Regions from separate parts of the Homo sapiens genome. Here region 2 is linked to region 1. Evidence: promoter capture Hi-C in 16 types of primary human blood cells and fetal thymus (Javierre and others, 2016). All regions are on one chromosome and are shown on one strand. Each heading gives the region's core, a stretch centred on a gene start or on the middle of the fragment in contact. The rest is flanking DNA. Distances are from core to core; before and after follow the strand shown.

Evidence for each region. Contacts are between HindIII fragments. The CHiCAGO score rates a contact against its expected background, and 5 or more counts as called.
Region 2: a fragment that was not itself captured here is called in contact with the fragment with the promoter of IGSF9B in region 1 in 1 of 17 cell types (activated CD4 T cells); the score reaches 6.2 in activated CD4 T cells.

The regions. Positions count from the first base shown.
Region 1 is chr11:133,954,787-133,959,304 of GRCh38, reverse strand. It overlaps IGSF9B (immunoglobulin superfamily member 9B), which reads left to right and starts at 2,337. Exons shown (of 20, transcript NM_001277285.4): 1 at 2,337-2,614. The coding sequence starts at 2,551. RefSeq lists a silencer at 2,159-2,508. The HindIII fragment of the contact is 2,603 bases long and covers 1,452-4,054 here.
Region 2 is chr11:16,742,811-16,747,029 of GRCh38, reverse strand. C11orf58 (chromosome 11 open reading frame 58) reads right to left here. Exons shown (of 5, transcript NM_014267.6): 2 at 2,346-2,429. Among named protein-coding and RNA genes, the nearest start is that of C11orf58, 6.3 kb to the right of the region's middle. The HindIII fragment of the contact is 3,409 bases long and covers 1,173-4,219 here.

The sequences.
Region 1 (4,518 bases), core at 1,088-3,587:
TTCCCAACCCAACTCATGTTCTAAAGCTTGTTACGTGTTTTTTTCTTTCCAATTTGACAGACACTTTTGTTGTTGTTTTTGTTTGTTTTTTAACAGGGTCTCATTCTGTCACCCAGGCTGGAGTGCAGTGGCATGATCACTGAGCCTAGAACTCCTGTGCTCAGGCAATACTCCTGCTTCAGCCTCCTGAGGAGCTGAGACTACTGGCATGAGCCTCCATGCCCGCCATCCATTCTGACAGACAGTTCTACTTTCCTAGCAGGAGGCAGAACCCTGAGTAGGACAAATGGATGGCCAGACAAAGCAATCAAGATGGGTGGTGAGAGTGGCTCCATCTTTTTCCTTGCCCTGCAGGCCCCTAGGAGAGGGTTTCTCTGAGACCTGATGTTTCCCACTCCATACCTAACAATGGTGAGGAACTAGGGCCAGGCTTTGTGGATCCGGCACTTTTCTCTAGGCCACAGTTAGCTGCTTAGAGGTTGTGGGAGGAGAAGGATCCTGTTATGACCAATTCTGCAAATGGATTCCAATATGTCTTTACAGTCCCGGGGCCCTGGGAAAGTGTGTAAGTGTGTGTGTATGTATATGTGTGTGTGTGTGTTGGGGGTGGAGTTATTCTGGGTCATGCCACCTGGAAATCACTGCATCAATGAGACCTGGAGATCACTGCATCAATGAGACCTGGAGCAGCTCACTTCATTGTCCCCAGAAAGGCATCTTTGCCCAAGAAGAGAACCAAAATCATGGCTCAGGGAGAGATGGCCCCAAGTTATGCATCTTGAGTGTGTTTGCACAGGTGGAGGGGTGGGTAGGGTAGAAGGTTATTCAACAGTCCTGGTTCTCTGGATCTATCCAGGCCCTCGACCTTTATCCATGTGCTCACTGACTGCTCTGTTGGGGGCCTCTTTCTGCCTCCCAGCTGGCGGTGAGCTAAGAGGCTTCCGGTGTCAGGGAATGCTCCACCTCCGGTGTTCAAGGCCACTTTTTGTGCATGTGTGTGTACCTGTGTGCACGCTTTCCCAGAAGCAAGTCTCCTTCTTGTTGTTTTGGGAGCTTCATGTCCTGGAGCCAGGGCTTTGTGGCTAACGAGTGCTTTGAGAGGATGAAATTCCTGAGCTCTCGCTCGCTGACCCTCTGCCTTCCTTCCTTGGCCAACAGCCCATCCCAGGGAGCGGTGTGATTCTTACCACTGCCTTCACTCCTTGAAAGAACAAACATCTTCACTGCAGCCTCTGAGCGCTGGTGTGAGGTGATTGTTTGTAGTAGATGTTTCCATGACACTCATTTATTTCTTCTGCAAATACAACTGTATTGGGGGAGGGGAAGCAGACAGGCTAGGGTAGGGAGACTGGAACATACGAAGACCTTCCAGTTTCCTATTTACATTCCTCTGTAGGATGAGAAGCTCCTTCCCTTTCCCTGGGTCTCCTCCATCCCAGACTCCTAAAGCTTCCCCCAAACCCATCTTGGTTTCATGCGGCCGAGTCGGGGCTGGGCTCCGAGTAAGGTGGAGAGGGGAGGAACCATGTGCGTGAGGAAGCAGCCTTTATCAGGAGAAGTGGGAAAAAGACCCAACTTTGACTGCTTGGAGTCGGGATTCAGTAATGATGAGCAGCAGTGACCAGCACTGGGGGTGGAGTGTGTGTGCACGAGTGTTCCTGAGGGGTCTGTGGCACTTCGCAGCTGAGCCAATGACTCACTCTAAATCTTAGCGACTTTGAGAGGTCATTTTAGTCATCCCCCGGTCTGCATCACGTTTGGAGGGGGTGGTGCGCTGCTCTGGGGACGTGTCTGGGTGCGGAGGGAGACGGGGTGGGGAGGCGGCGCGTGACCTCTTTGAAAAGATCTCCGGCGAAGGACGTTCCCCGGCTCTCCCGGGCCGCCGGCTCCTGGGTTTCCCCATCATAGAATCAGCATGGTCCTCTCGGGAACTGCTTTTTGCCGGATGGAAACCGGATGTTGGGTTCCATGAGTGGGCGGGGGCTCCACTTCCCTCAGACCTGTCCGGGGTAATTGAGACCCGCCAGGGTCCCGTTAGAAGCTACCATTTCCCTCACCAGAAACTTGCCACGCAGTGTGAGCCGAGAGAGAAGCGGGCAGAGACGCTATACCACCTTCTCCCCGGCAATGCGCATGATTCTGCGGCTCTGTGCTCGCCACACTTCAACGCACCTTGAAATGGGCTCGCCTCCTTCGCGCCGCGACGGGCGGAAGGCTGAGCCAATCGGACCCCCGGCTTGCGGGCGGCGCCCAATAGGCGGGCGGCGGGGGCGGTTCCGGAGGCCCGGCCCGGCTAGGCTTCACCGTGGACCTGGCTGCGCTCCGCCCGGGCGAGTAGTGCAGGTGCCGCTGCGCCGGGGCCGGGGAGGCGCGCGCCGAGCCGAGCGGAGCCTAGGAGGGATGGAGAGCTGGCCACCCGGGCTGCAGGAGCACCGGCGCGGGGCGTAGGCGGCGCGAGGCGGGCGCGAGGCGGGCGCTCGGGCGCGAGGCGCGTGCGGGCGCGGGAGCACTTTGCGATAGGATGAGGCTCCGGGCTGGCGCGGTAGTACTATGATTTGGTATGTGGCCACTTTCATAGCAAGTGTGATCGGCACCCGAGGGCTTGCGGCTGAAGGTGAGTTGAAGTGCGGCGTCCCTCCCCTGCCCCTCCCGGCGCCCTCGGCCCCTCGCGCCCGGCCCCTCGGTTTCCCGGCTCCTTGGCCCCCCGGTTCCCCAGCTCCCCGGCGCGCCTTCCCGCGGGTGAGGCTTGGGCTCCGACGCGGGCCAGGCGGCCCGGGAGCATTGCCGGGGAGGGCCTGGGGGCCGTGGGCTGGAGGGGCGGGCGGGAAGGGGCCAGAGCCCACGGGCTGCCGGGCACTCGGGGAAAGGACGCAGTGGAACCTGGGTCGACTTCGCCCACCACGGGCCCCACGGTGCACACCGGCGCGCCTAGCCCGTCGCCTCCTGCCCGGCGGCCGCCTCCCAGAGCTGCGGGAAACTCTGGCTGCGGGAGTTTGCGGTCTCCGGGCAGGCTGCAGCACGCTAGAGCCCCGCGCCGCGAGGAGCGCCTGCAGGGAGGCGCGACCCGGAGGATCCCTGGGACTGGCGGCACCCGCGTCTAAGGCCCCGGGTTCGCGCGGCCCTGCGGGCGTCCATCGCTCCGCTCGCGCCCCTCCTGCCCACACATCTTGGCAGCTGGAGGTCGGATCCCCCTAGCAGGGGCGCCCGGTGAGAGGAGGATTGATGAGGCCAGCTTCGAGGTGTGTCCGCTTTTGGCTGGACCCCGCCGGCCCCCGCGCCTCTCAGCCGCACCTGGGCCCCGGCCAGGCAAAAGTTCCCCGGGAGCGCGCCGCAGCCGCGCGGGCCCCACGCCGCCCTCCCCAGGCTGCGAGGCAGAGCTGGCTGGGGGCGGCGGCGGGGGAGGGGAGGGGCGGGGAAGGGGGGGTCCCCACGCTGTGAATCCGAGCGGAGGGGGGATTTTCTCTTTCCGCTTTCCTGGGTCTGAGCTGGGGGAGACGCAAGGGGGGAGCCACCGAGTTGGGTGATGCGTGCGTGAGCGCGCGGGCTTTTGCTTTGGAGATGGGCAGAGCGACCTACAAGCCTCTGGGTGGCACCCCCGGCTCTCGGCCCTTGTATGGAAGTGGGAGCGGAGCCTGGAGGGTGCCAGGACTGTGAGCTCAGGGCTGTCAGCGCGCAGACACGACCCGGCTGCGGGCAAGTTCACCAAGCCGGAGGAGATGGCGGCGGGAGAGAACCCGCTGTGGGTGGGAGTCAGCAGGCAGGACTCGCCGACAGAGAACCCTCTCCCAGCGGCATGGGGCGCCGGGTGGGCTGGAGGCGCCTCTCACGGGGTCCCCTCGTCACTCGTCTGTGCAGGGGGGCGTGCTTCAGGAAACTTTCCGGAATGGAATGAATATGTCGCCTCTGCTTCTGAGGGGGGTGGTGGTGTCTGAAAACAGAACGAGCAGAGGGCGAAGCGAAGGGTGATTTTGTTAACTGACATGTTGGTCCGGACGGTTTTAAAACTCTTCATTTGTCAGGTGGGAACACTGAGGCAAGGGTGATGGCGGAAGCTTACGGAACGGGGGGTGGATGTGAGGTGCATCGGGCTGCGCTTGACAGTCTGCCTGTAGCCTCATCCTCTCCCCCATTTCCTTGCCGTCTTCCAATGCCCGCATCCTCCTCCCCTCCCGTTTTTGGTATGTTCCTGCTATGGGACTGTCCCTGAAAGCACAAAAGGATGAGCTGGGATCTTTGAATAGAAAAGAGACGCTGAAGGAAGGCTCTGAAATAGCCTCCGAACCTAAGTCAGGGTGGGCAATGGACTTCTTTGCAAGTTTCAGCCCAGAATAAAGGAATGTGAGTTTATACTGCAGCAACACGCAGAATCGCAAGATAGAAGGAAGGGCTTCCCAAAATTGAAGGCTGCCTGGCATGAAGGTTATGCCCTCTTTCAGGGTGCAGAGGGGTCCTTCTGTCTGGAATGGCTGGACATGTACCCCTGTCTGGAAGCAGAGGGTGACCTTGCTGGTCTTGGGG
Region 2 (4,219 bases), core at 1,628-4,127, about 120 Mb after region 1:
CAAATATACTTTGTGGCCACAAAATGGAATACCTCTAAACACCCCATATGAAGATCAAAGCTACAATCTTGGCCTCACAAAGAATTTAATCTATGGGCCAGGCGCAGTGGCTCATGCCTGTAATCCCAGCACTTTGGGAGGCAAAGGAGGGTGGATCACGAGGTCAGGAGTTCAAACGGTGAAGCCCTGACTCTACTAAAAATACAAAAATTAGCCAGTCATGGTGGCAGGTGCCTGTAATCCCAGCTACTTGGGAGGCTGAGGCAGAGAACTGCTTGAACCCGGGAGGCAGAGGTTGCAGTGAGACTGTCTCAAAACAACAACAACAAAAAAAAGAGAATTTAATCTATGCTGAACAACCTATTTACTAGTTAGTCAACTTCCATATATTTTATATTAGGATGTTCTTCCTAAGTACTTGAATAAGTTTCATTCTACTAAGTTGAATATGGCCCCTAAACTAACACTTACCTTACATATCCTTAACAAATCTTTTAAGTCCTCACTTAATTTTCAATGATAGGTTCTTGGAAACTTCGATTTTAACTGATTTTAGTTGAAACAACCTATAATGAAAACAATTTTCCTCCTTATCAGTGTTACAGTGAAACAACTTTATTGTCAGTTTGCCAAAGGTTAGTTTCCAAGAACCACAAGGGATGTTAAGTGAGGACTTAATATATTTGCATGAAACAAGAGAAATTGCAGACTATTTTCTATGACAAATTACAAATTGGGAAATCTCGATTAATGAGATATTATACAAATGCTTTATTTAAATAGGTCTCAGTGTTTTACATGACCTCTTCCTATCCCCAAACCTACTGTTGTAGTCTGGCTAACTCCTTCTCATCCTTTGAGATTCAGATCAATTCTATTTTGGGGAAGCTTTCTTGCACTGCTAAACCAGAGTTAGCTGCCCTCTGTGATTCCACAGCACTATGTGCATGGCTTTCTCACAGCAATTACAATTCTGTATTGCTATTATCTGGTTTCCTCCATTACATAATAGCTTCAAACATGTATTATTGATCTATATGACCACCCAGGATCCAGCACAGTAGTAGGTAGTCTGTAATTGTTGGGAAAATGAATGAATGTATTCCCATGTGCATAACAAAACAAAGAGCAGAATTTCATTTTAATGTGCTTAAAAAAAGAGAAAAAAAGCTTTCCTATTTCTTTTCAATTTAGTTTGTAGGAAGTCTGTTAGGACAATGTTAGGAAAATAAATTTACTTGCTTACAAAAACTAAGTATCTAGAGATCCCTGTATAAACTGCTAGGATAAAGAAAGGTTTTTACAATAGATATTTTCCTGGCACTTGTTTTATATAGTTGACCCTGAACACAGGATTAAACTGTGTGGATCCACTTATACTTGAATATACTTCTGCCTCTGCCACTCCCAGACAGTAAGACAATCCCTCCTTTTCAGCCCACTCAACATGAAAACTATGAAGATGAAGACCTTTATGATAATCCACTTCCAATTAATGAAGAGTCAATTATTTTCTCTTCCTTATAATTTTCTTGATAACATTTCCTTTTCTTTATTGTAAGAATACAGGATATAATACATTTAACACCCAAAATATGTGTTAACTGATAATTATGTTATCAGTAAGACTTCCAGTCAACAGTAGGCTATTAGTAGTTAAGTTGTTGGGGAGTCAAAAGTTATATGCAAACTTCTGACTGCCTGCAGAACCAGCACCCCTAACCCCCACATTGCTCAAGGGTCAACTGTACCTTCTATTAACGTTAACCAAACTGACAGGCATTTCAAAGTATCTTGAACATTTTTAAAATTAAGGTTTTCTTTCCCCCTGGTGTTCTACACATTCAGAGAAACTTCTCTATCTAGTAACAAACTATAGAAATAATCTCTGAAAGTGTAGTCTTAAAATTAAGTTTTTGATAAAGGATATTCCTCTGGTTACTACTTCAAGGGCTGGAGGGAGCTATAAAATATGACAGCCTTTTCACTTTGGCCAGAGGTTCCCACAAGATAACCTACCCAGAAGAAATATATTCTATCAAACCACTGGGCCAACATATGGCAAATCATAAACTTTGACATCTCTTTTCTCCTATACAGCCTCCTTGAACCAAATTTTTCTCTGTACAGTCTTCAAACTATACGGACAGAGAATCCTAGAAGTGGCTCAAAAATAATATAAATTTTATGTGCTTGGTTAGGCCACATGTATTTCCCAAAGCCAAAAGAAATCACACAGAACAGGAAAATGGAATCCAAGTATATTCAGTCCTTCTTACTTAGCATACATAAAAATGGCAATATTTTCACAGAAAAGGTAAAAATGCACACCATCTGATGCTTACCTTTCCTGCACCCATAAGTCTCAAGAACTTTTGTTTTCTCTCTTCATTACCCAAGTCTGCTGCCTCCCAATTGCTAGATCCCAGCTAGAAAAAAAATTGGTTGATTAAATTTTTTTTGCATAAAAATAAGTATTACGAAATCTAAAGTCTACCTGTAACTCTCAAGTTTTTTTCCCCTGTCAGTTGTAACTATAAACAGCGTTCATTTTTCTTGCTTAGGAAGTTAAGCATATTCATCACATTCAAATTTACTCCTTTTCTATTACCTCACAGCAGAATCCTTTAGTTCTCCTACAGCCAGAGCTGAGTCTCAAAAGTTTGCCTCTATCAGCGTCACCTAGAGGGCTTGTTAAAACAGACTGCAGGGCTACAGCCCCAGAGATTCAGCGGGTCTGGGGTGGAGCTCTAGGATTTGAATTTCAACAAATTCTTAAATGATTGCTGATGCTATTTATCTGGGGACCACACTTTGAGACCCACTGCCTCGCAGGGTAGGGTCCTAGAGCACCTAGTACTCTGAACTTAGATGGCAGCCACAGTTGTTAGTTGAAGTTAAAAATTCTGCCTTTATCAGTGAGCTAACTTTTAAGAGAGAAAATTTTAACTTTTCAGTTGCCTTTTTTTTTTTTTTTTTAGCAGTTCTAGTTACTTGTTAGGATTGAGATGTCATTACTTTTATTCTTTCTTAAAAGTCTTCCAAAGAACAAAGAGAAAACTTATTTTTTAAAAGAACAGACTAAAACTCATGCTATCTTGCAATTATCAAATGAGTCCACTGAACTCTTATAAATCTAAGAAATATGATGGAATCCTAGTGAGCGTATTTTTTCCCTACATTTTGAAACAAATGTAAAAACTGTTGTTTTTTAATAGTTTTTAATAGTTCATTATTTATAATTCATTATTTATAATTCATTATTCTCAACTATGCTAAAAATAACTAAATAGTTTTTAAGATATTAGTTTTCTCATTGTATTGTCCAAAGTATTTCATCATCATCTTTCAAGACATCATACCTGTTGTCTACTTTTAGCTTTCACTGAACACCGATGGGAATTCACAATTTTTCATTTTCCATTCATAATGGCAAAGAGAAAAAACTGACAGAAGGCATTAATCATTATTAGACGAAGAAGGTGAATGCAAAATGAAAGGCAGTCGTATTCTAGACTAATCATGATAAAATTAACTGCAAAAATCTCAGACTATGAGTTTTTGGATGAGGAAATATTAGAAGGCTTTTCTCCCACCCAAGAATTGACAAGAAAAAGAAAAAAAAGACAAACAAGAAATGTACTCTCACTGGGAGAGCCATCAGCAGGAAGGACTTCATCTTGCAATATTTCACAGTAAGAGCCAGGATCATCCCATTTTCTAAAAGGAGGTGTGAGTGTTTTATCTCATCTTTTACAATGTTTATGCATCAAAATTTACTTGATTTGGTTGCAAATGGACAAAGGGTGAAGGCAGATGTGTACACAAGGTGACTGGAAGGAAAATGAAATAAAAATATTCACCGAATTTATCATTCTAATTAAGTTTATAATCTAAAAATAAAAATGTTTTGCAATTATGGAGCAAGGATGACAATTACAAAATTGTAAGCAATAGGTTTCAAAAATTCCTCAAGTATTGTATTTTGATGATGCAAATCCGAGACAGGTTTGAACTTCAAGGGTCCCTTATAAGTGGATTTTTTTCAACCAAATGCAGATCCATCCCAAGTATATGGAAGGCTGATTTTTCCTATTCTCAGGTTCCACAGGGCTGGCTGCAGAACTTGAGTATGCAAGATTTGCCAAAGAGGTGGGTGGGTCCTGGAACCAATCCCCCACATTTAGCATACTGAAGGATGACTATATGTACATCAAAA